2 separate regions of the Homo sapiens genome follow, and region 1 is linked to region 2. Evidence: promoter capture Hi-C in 16 types of primary human blood cells and fetal thymus (Javierre and others, 2016). All regions are on one chromosome and are shown on one strand. Each heading gives the region's core, a stretch centred on a gene start or on the middle of the fragment in contact. The rest is flanking DNA. Distances are from core to core; before and after follow the strand shown. Region 1 holds the start of GSTM3 (glutathione S-transferase mu 3). Region 2 has its middle 3.5 kb from the start of GPR61.

What was found. The method cuts DNA at HindIII sites, captures the fragments that hold promoters and counts their contacts. A CHiCAGO score of 5 or more calls a contact.
Region 1: a contact is called between the fragment with the promoter of GSTM3 here and a fragment that was not itself captured in region 2, in 3 of 17 cell types (M2 macrophages, endothelial precursors and M0 macrophages). The highest score is 7.5, in M2 macrophages.

The regions. Positions count from the first base shown.
Region 1 is chr1:109,738,282-109,743,196 of GRCh38, reverse strand. It overlaps GSTM3 (glutathione S-transferase mu 3), which reads left to right and starts at 2,159. Exons shown (of 9, transcript NM_000849.5): 1 at 2,159-2,244; 2 at 2,686-2,957; 3 at 3,289-3,364; 4 at 3,704-3,768; 5 at 4,831-4,912. The coding sequence starts at 2,910. RefSeq lists a silencer at 2,720-2,949. The HindIII fragment of the contact is 14,932 bases long and covers 974-4,915 here.
Region 2 is chr1:109,533,968-109,538,796 of GRCh38, reverse strand. No RefSeq gene overlaps it. Among named protein-coding and RNA genes, the nearest start is that of GPR61, 3.5 kb to the left of the region's middle. The HindIII fragment of the contact is 720 bases long and covers 988-1,707 here.

The sequences.
Region 1 (4,915 bases), core at 910-3,409, 200 kb before region 2:
CAACCCAAATGTCCAACAACGATAGACTGGATTAAGAAAACATGGCACATATACACCATGGAATACTATCCAGCCATAAAAAATGATGAGTTCATGTCCTTTGTAGGGACATGGATGAAACTGGAAACCATCATTCTCAGCAAACTATCGCAAGGACAAAAAACCAAACACCGCATGTTCTCACTCATAGGTGGGAACTGAACAATGAGAACACATGGACACAGGAAGGGGAACATCACACTCCAGGGACTGTTGTGGGGTGGGGGGAGGGGGGAGGGATAGCATTAGGAGATATACCTAGTGTTAAATGAGGAGTTAATGGGTGCAGCACACCAACATGGCACATGTATACATATGTAACAAACCTGCACATTGTGCACATATACCCTGAAACTTAAAGTGTAATAATAATAAAATTTAAAAAAAAGAAAGTAATGCAAAAACTGCAAAAAAAAAAAAAGAAAAAGAAAAGAAAATGGGCATAACACCTACTTCCTAAAGTTGTTGTGAAGCTTAAATTGGAATAAATTAGCTAACATACGTAAACACTTAGATATTGCCTGGCATATGATAGGTGCTCAATAAATGTTAATCTTATACCTCAGGTGAATTTGTGACTGGCCTTTTGCTTTCTTGGGAGGAGAGACACAGGCATTATAAATTTCACCTGTCCATGTGGTTTGTACTCTTCCTTTCTTCTGTTTAGCAAAATGCCCTTTTAAAAAGTCCCAACCTTGCTTCAGTTGAACTGATGGGCAAATGTGATTTCCCACACCTGAGCTAGGGGATCTAGGCTCTCAGACTGCCCTGAGAGCTGTGCTGCAGAGGCCTGGCCAGAACCCTCAGAGCAGCTCCGGACTCCTTCCTCTGTCACTCCTCCACATTCAACTAGAATCCTATGTCTCCCGAGTTGACCCTGTTGCAAATCTGTGCCCCTTTTCATTTGCATGGGCCCTGCCGAAATTCAGAAGCTTAGTTCTTCCCATGACTATAGGGGCCTCGGGCAGGTCTCTTGCTCTGTCAAGGTCAAAACCCCTACTTTCCTAAATTCAACCATTGATTCTCCATCTTCATCTTACTTGATCAGCCACACTTGACATAGTTGATCACTTCTCCCTTTAAACATCTTCACATGGCTTCTGGGACCTTTTGTTTTCCTCCTACCTCCCTGGCCACTCCTTTTCAGACTCCTTTGCTGGTTTGCTCTCATTTTTCCCTAACCTTTACATGTTGATATGCCAGAGCACCTCAAACCCTTAGACCTCATCTCTGCTACTCGTGCTCCCATGGTGATCTCATCTAGTCTCTGGTTTCAAACACAGAGTGATCACTCCTGTACTTGCTGTTTCCCTTTTCCTGGAGTTCTCTCTGCCTCCTGCAGGTAGGAAGTGATTCGAGATAAGAGAGGGAGAGAACTCTTCTGGCCAGGATAGAGGGTGATTCTGAGAAGGCTTCAAGGAAGAAGTGAGCATTTGAGCACGGCTACTTGAGGAAGGCTAGGCCATGGACATTAGGGTGCAGGCAGGAGCAGAGCAAACATGCTTGTAAAAGGAACAGCAATTATTCTGTTTTATATTTATATCAGCCCATGGTGGCCCCCACAGCAGAGTGGCTTGATCTCTCACCTCCTTCAGGTCTTTGTTTAAAGATTAACTTCTCCATGAGGCCTTCTATGAACATAACCTTTAAAAACATAAATCCCCTTCCTACTGGGACTCCCCCAGTTCCCACCCTGAGACCCCCTATCTCTCTTCTCGATTTTATTTCTCTCCATAGGATGTGTATCACCACCTGACTTACTAGCTATTTACTATATATTAGTTTATTTCTTCCCCATTAGAATGTAAACTTCCTGAGGGCAGGGATTTTGTCTGTTGAGTTCAGTTCTGTATCCCCAGCACCTAAAACAGTGCCTGTCCATAACAGGCATGTTAAACATTGTTGGACAGATGAATGAGTGAATGAAAAATGGTAGTACCTTTCCTCCTCCAGTCCATCCTACACAAAGAGGCAAGATTAATTTCCCTAAATGCGTGAGCATTAGGAAGTGGGAGGGATTGGAGGAGGAAATTATAATAAGGAATCCATAAATTACTTAAGCCCATAAAACAAAGGTAGGAAACATTCAAGATAAGAGACCTCTTCTGGCCAGGATAGAGGTTGGTTCTGAGAAGGCTTCAAGGAATAGGCAGACATTTCAGCAAGGCTGCTGAGGAAGGATAGGCTGTGGAAATTAGGATGCAGGTAGGAGGATCACAGAGCAAACACTCCAAGGTGGGAAATGCAAGTGTGTGTAGAAGGAACAGCAAGTATTGTTGGGTTGGGCTGGCTTATGAAGTTGTGACGGGCTGAGGGAGAGACAGGACTGGAAAAGCACGTTGGGGTCAGGTTGCAGAGGTCCTTGACTGACAGAGAGGGGAGCTTGGTCTGTGGGGAATCTTCTGCTCTGTGTGGTCAGAGGCTGGTCTGACTCTCCGGCCTTGCCCCAGTCTTCCTATCCTTCATCCAGCCCCGGCTGGCTCGGTAAAAACGGCGCGAATCTCGCTCTCCCTGGGTAACTAGGGTCCCCACTGCCTGGCTAGTGGTGCTTTTCGCGTCTTCACTGGCACCATTAATGAATGAAGTCTGGCTCCCACCCGCGGGGAAGGGAGGAGCCTCAACCTCGGGTCCTTTGCTCTCCTGCAGCACTCCTGCCCGGGTCCCGCCTCGGGGTCGCCAGGCCCTGAACCCCAACGCCGGCATTAGTCGCGCCTGCGCACGGCCCTGTGGAGCCGCGGAGGCAAGGGACGGAGAACGGGGCGGAGGCGGAGTCAGGGCGCCCGCGCGTGGGCCCCGCCCCCTTATGTCGGGTATAAAGCCCCTCCCGCTCACAGTTTCCCTAGTCCTCGAAGGCTCGGAAGCCCGTCACCATGTCGTGCGAGTCGTCTATGGTTCTCGGGTACTGGGATATTCGTGGGGTGAGTGCCGTCTCAACGGTAGAGCCGCTCGGTCAAAGAGACTGACGCGGAGAGGGCGGGTCTCTGGGTCCGCGATCTCCAGCAGGAGCAGCTCTACGCGGGAGCCTTTTCGAGCTGCCGAGCCACGGATGTCGACCCCTGCCCAGCCTCTGGGATCGCGGGCCCTGTGGGGAGGGGCGGAGGAGACCACGCCGGAGCCGGGCCTAGGGGCCGCTTAACCACCGCCCCGGCAGGACGCAGGGACTCGGCAGCCCCGGGCCGGGGAACGTTAGCGGGCGGGGGTTGGGAATGGGTGGGAGCTGCGCAGTCGCTGAACCGCTGTCTTCCCCAGCTGGCGCACGCCATCCGCCTGCTCCTGGAGTTCACGGATACCTCTTATGAGGAGAAACGGTACACGTGCGGGGAAGGTAATGCCGCTCCGCGTGCCCGTGCAGCCAAGCTGGCCCTCCACCTGCCCTGGTCTTCTTACGCCCAGAGGGTGGTGGCGTCGCGCCAAGGCCGGGTGGGACGTTTGCCCCAATCTGGGTGAATAGAGACACATCCTTTATCTGGAACTGGGGGTTCTCTTTTTAACATAGCCCAAACCCGTCTTAATGCTTAACCAAATAGGGCTCAGAGGCTCAATGGTTATGCTTTTGGGGCCTGGGAATTTGAGGTATTGGGACCAAGTCATTTCTTTAGATCTTTTGCTCTTGTCAGGTGGGGTATTAAGGAGGTTGGGTCCCACTTAATTCCGTCTCTTACAGCTCCTGACTATGATCGAAGCCAATGGCTGGATGTGAAATTCAAGCTAGACCTGGACTTTCCTAATGTAAGTGGCTTTAGTAGAGGTGGCGGGCAGAAGGGAAAGCCTTCAAGTATATCCATCCTTGCCTCTCTCCTGCCTGGTACAGAAGGATGCAAAATAGGGGATCTTAACCCGGATAGAATAAATAGAATTCAGGGGTCCTTGAACTGGATGGATATGTATTTTCATTCCCATTAACCACTAGCAAAAGTTATTTCCTTTTATTGTGAAGAGAGACAATAAGTGACATTGGTTATTAGCCATGTCTGTCACTTTGTCACTAGTAGAAATCAGGTATTTTCTTTTTTGTGTGTTTCTTGTTCTTTTGTTTTGAGACAGTGTCTCACTCTGTCGCTCAGGCTGGAGTGCAGTGGCGCAATCACAGCTCACTGCAGCCTCAACCTCCCAGGCTCAAGCAGTCCTCCCACCTCAGCCTCCCAAGGAGCTGGGACTACAGGCACACACCACTATGCCCAGCTAATTTTTGTATTTTTGTAAGAGACGGGGTTTTGCCATGTTACCCAGGCTGATCCTGAACTTCTGGGCTCAAACAGTCCTCCCACCTCGGCCTTCCAAAGTGTTGGGATTACAGGCATGAGCCACTGTGCCCAGCCTGAAATCAGGTAGTTTCATATTCTATAACATGCGTTGCAGATATTTTAAGTGATATTTATATACATGTAAGTAAATATATACATATAATGTTATTTACTTTGAGATTATGTTAGTCATTACATCTGCTTGCTATTTAATGCACTAATAGGCACATGTTACTCTTATTTGAATTTTTAAAAATATTTTTTGATTGTGTAAATTATCTATTTTGCTTCATGCATTTAACAACTTTATTCTGAGAAAAGGTCCATGGCATGCACATACACTCACACATACACACACCAATTTAAGAACCCCTGTCTAGAATCTTGTGGACCCAGTTGCTACCTTCTACTTATTTTCTTTTTTCTCCTAACACAGCATCTTCTCACTCTTGTTCACTGCCCTGCAAGTGTTCTTTTCCCCTGGAGAGAGAGGTAGGGAATCAAGAGAGAGGCAGGTTGTTCATTTGTCCTGTCCTTTTCCTTTCAGCTGCCCTACCTCCTGGATGGGAAGAACAAGATCACCCAGAGCAATGCCATCTTGCGCTACATCGCTCGCAAGCACAACATGTGTG
Region 2 (4,829 bases), core at 98-2,597:
AGTCTAAACAGGGAATTCAGGCATGATCCCCTACTCCAGAGCCTGCTTCCCTGAGACTTGCCTATCTAGGGACTCCTTCTGCCTCTAAGAAGGAAAAAGGGAATTCTGGAATTGTTTACCAGACCCAACCCAAAGAGCCATAAGAACAATGAGTTACCCAAGGACCTCACTGGGACAAGTTGGCTGCCCCAAGCCCCAGGTCAAAAACAAAGAGGCCACTGACAAACCAAGAGCCGATGCAGCAAGTGCCGCTGTCACCAGCCACCACTTTTTGAGCTGTTATGAGTGCCAGGCCCTTTACATACAGTTTCTTTGATCCCCACACCAATCTATGAGGCAGCCATGACTTGCCCTATTTTATAAGTGAGGAACCGGGTGCTGGAGGAGAAGTGACTTTCCCCAAATCACACAGCTAATAAGTGCAAGAGCTGATATTTGAACCCAGATCTGTTTGAAGTCCAAGTATTTCCTCCTCCTTCTCCCTTCGTTCCGTGGCCTCTCCAGTGGCCTGACACAAGACTGTGGACTACAGCCCTAAAAGCTATCTTCATAGAAGTAGTCACTGCCTTCCAGAAAGCCTAAAACAGACCTCAAAATTAGGCATACCTGCGTACAAGAAATTCAAATGGAAATACCAAATTGAAAACCTGTAGACAGCAAAGTGATTTTTAGGAAGCCCTGTGCTGTTGTGTTGGCAAGATTAATTTGGCATCAAGCAGATTGTCTGGGATTAGGTAAAGCCTGTCCCTGCTCAGCACCCACATTCTTCCTGCAGGGCCCCAGCCCAGACTGGCATGGCCCCTTCCGAGGGATTCAATAAGAACTGGAGCAGACCTGGGCCCACTGGAACAGGATTTTAGAAAGAGCGCTAGACTGGAGTCAGAAAACCTTGGTTCCAGTTTGGCGCCATTCTATTGGTTGGTGGTAAGACCTTGGCCTGTGAGTTGGCTGTCTGTGAAAATGGGCAAAATTCTTCACTTCCAAGCTTATCTAATAGTGGTAGGGAGCCTGCAAAACAAACATAGCCTGCCTCTCCAGCTTCAGGGAGCTAGCACAGGTAATCACAGCTCATGTGGTGGCCAGCAGGCAAGGCGTCCGTGTCCTGAAGCCCCTCCCAGAGAGCTATTGGGAAAGGCAGTACCAAAGAGGCAGCATGTTCCAGCTGTTGGAACCATCTTGGCTCAGGAGGTCGGCGGGGGAACTGCTTATTCTAGCCTGTGGGCAAATAATAAATAATAATAATAATCATGCTGGCTGGGCACAGTGGCTCACGCCTGTAATTCCAGCACTTTGGGAGGCTGAGGCGGGCAGATGATTTGAGATCAGGAGTTCAAGACCAGCCTGGCCAACATGGCGAAACCCCGTCTCTACTAAAAATACAAAAATTAGCTAGGCATGGTGACACATGCCTGTAATCCCAGCTACTCAGGAGGCTGAGGCAGGAGAATCGCTTGAACCCAGGAGGTGGAGGTTGCAGTGATCTGAGATCGCACCATTGCACTCCAGCCTGGGCAATAAGAGTGAGACTCTGTCTCAAAAAATAATAATAATAAATAATAATAATAATAATGCTACTAGTTCTTGAAGGCCCACTTTGGGAGGCACTTCTTATGCTGTATCTTATTAAATGATCTCAGTCAGGGTGTGGAGTAGCTACTGACAGCACACCCCCAACCCCACCTGCCAGTCCCTCCTTTTAGTAAAGCTTAGCACAATGGAGGGGGCAAGAAGACCAAGATGGAGAAACTGAGTGTGATCCCCCAAACCACATAAGAGATCCATGGCTCACTATGCTGTGCACACACCCAGGAAGGGAATCCTGTTACAGGACGGGGACCAGGCCCTGTTTCCAACAGTGGCACCCCTTCCCTTGGTATCATGGCAGGGCCCTTGCTGCTGAGGACTGATCTTTGCATCCTAGACTTGCTCCCTGGTACAGTTTTACCCAACCCTTGTGCACCAGCACCTCGTGACAGGGTCGTGTCTGCCCATCCACCCTTTTCTGCCCCAGGATGAGACCTGGAAGCCAATCAAGTTTATCTTTCATTCATCCATCCACTTCTTCAATAAACATTGAAGACTTCTTATGTTGCCACTGCCCCCTCCCTAGAGCCCCTTGCCTGCTCAGTGGCACCCACTACCCTCCTTCTCTGCCTTGTGTCAGAATCTGCTCTCAGGAAAGAGGTTGATAAACCCATTTGCACTGATAGCAACTTAATGTGTTCTTTCCCAGGAATATTAACAATTTAACAGGGAACAAAGAGAAGAAGCAGAACGTTGGGATTCCAGCATCGACCAGGGATGTCCCTGAGATCCCACAACATAGACTGCCTGTCAGCCGCCTACTCCCTAGCCAGGCCTCCCCCGCCAAGCTGCTGGCATTGTGTCCTCTTGGCATCCACCTCCATCCGCATGGGCACCCAACCCCCCCGCCCCTGCCAACCAGACAGCAGGCTTACAGCTGGGACCTCCACACCACAGCTCAGTTCCTGGCTTCCTGGGGCCCCCCTGTACCAGCACCAGCCATGCCTGCTTTCCAAGCACTCACCTCACCCTGCCCAGCATCTGGGAGCCAGGCCAAGGGGCTGAGGAGGGAGGCAGAGGAAAGCAGAGGTGAGAGCCCTTCCATTCTCTTTATTCCCCCACTGTCTGGCCTACACCCCCTGCCAGGAGCTGAGATCCAATGGTATATTCAGCCTGCAGCTGCCACTGGTCATGTGAGCCCATTGCTAGGTTACAGGGACCCAAAAATAAATCCTTCCCAACCAGATTAGAAACTGGGGGCCTCGGATGAACCAGGCTCAAAAGAGTGGCAGGAACACCCACAGTGCATGTTTAGGCCAGGCCTGCTATGGACCAGGGCCCTTCCCATGCTGCCCACCTCCTGTCCATCAGCAGGGGCTCAATGCTGGAACCCCACAGAAAAGTCCCAGAGAGCTCCTGGGTCTCCTATTTATTAATAACACAATAAATAGGTCTACAGGTTGAGTGGCCCTTCCTCACTAGCAATCAGGGTAATATCCTCTGCATGTTCTTCCCATCCAACCTTCCCATCATCAGCCTGTCCCTCCACAGGCCCTGCCCTACACCCAGTGCATGGGCAAAGCGAATTAGTCATTTGCCCTGTGGCCTGGGGGCCATCTGCCCTAACAGTCCTTTTCCAGACTCGGGAAGGGAGCTCTGGCAGTAGGCACAGCACTAGGCGTATTCGTGTGAGTAGTCTTACACAATCTTCTCTGTTAGTCTCAATGATTCCATTTACAGATATGGACACTGGGGCTTAGAGAGGTTAAGTGACTTTTGCAGAGCCACACAGTTGAGCAACTGGGGTTCAAACCCCAGATCTATACTATGGGGATGAGGCAAGGAAGAAGACAGGGAAGCACAGTTATGGAAAGGGGAGTTCCCCAAAACCCTTCCCTGGGGCCTGAAAACTTGGCACTTTAATTGCTCTGAATTGGAGGGGAGTTATCTCCCCCTGGAACTTCTTTCACATCCTCCAAGCCAGGACGCAGCTTACCCAGGCCACGTACCTCCTTCCCCATGGCTTTGGGCTCTGTCCCCTTCTCTGGGAAATACTGTCCAGGACCTGGGTGGGGTCATCCCCGGTGCTGAAGCCTGGGGAGGCAGACACAAATCCCCACTGCTCAGCACAACCCTGCTTCAGAAGCTTGACATAGGGCCAGAGTAGCAAAGCTGAAAGGATCACAGGAGGTCAGGTGTCTAACTCCTGATTTTACAGATGAACAGGCCTAGAGTGGAAAGGGAACTTGCCCAGGGCTAGGCTACACAGCTAGAGGGTAAAGGAGGTGCAACCAGAACCCAAGCCTCCGGAGTCCTGCTCCTTTTTTCAGCTTGTCATTAATGGCGCACATTTGGGTTCCTGGGGCCCTTCCTCAACCCACCATATCCCTAGGACCTCCCAGCTGTCTGTTTTCTTCAGCTCCTCCTCCCCAGCAAGGTTCTGAGAAGGCCCAGACACCCCACTTACCTCTGTACTGTCCTTGTCTCCCCATTTTGAGTACATTCCTATGGTCTCCTGAAGCCTGGGAGCACCCTATTCCCACCTCCTTCAGCTCCTAGCAGCCCAAACTGCAGGCTCTATGTCACTCCATTCAAGACATGTTTATTGAGCAACTACTATATGCAAAGCTCTGTATAGGAAGTGAGGAAGAGGGTTACAAAGATTAAACAAATACAGACTTGCCTTCTTGGTGCTTATGTCTAGGATGGGGACAATGCAGGCTGTAAGTGTCAAGGGATGGTGAAATTGCTGGGGAGATTCAAAGGAAAAAGTGAACTTACTTCCTCATGAAATCTAGGAAGACTTCATGAAGGAAGTGGCACGGGTCTTAAAGGAGGAGTAGGATTTTAACTGTGAGTAACTGAAAGAGGCTGAGGACAGTAGTCTAGATGGAAAAAGAAGGCCTACCAAAAATATGGAAATAGCAAGTTTAGGAAATATTAGGGCACTGTGAGTTCTCCAATTTGACTGAAAAATAATCTGGCTGTAGGGAAGAAGTGAGAATAGAAAGGTAGATTTATGGTAGATTTATGGGACTGCGCCCCCTGCAAGCCAGGCTGAGAAGCCAGACTGAGAAGTCAACATAGCAAAATGTCTTGAGCAGGGAAACATAAGGCCACAGATGTGCCCATCTCCTATCTTTTTTTTTTTTTTTTAAGATAGAGTCTCTTTCTGAAACCCAGGCTGGAGTGTGCAGTGGCGCAGACATGGCTCACTGCAGTCTCGACCTCCCAGGCTCAAGTGATCCTCCTGCTTCGGCCTCCCGAGTAGCTGGGACCACAGGTGTGCCACCACACCCAGCTAA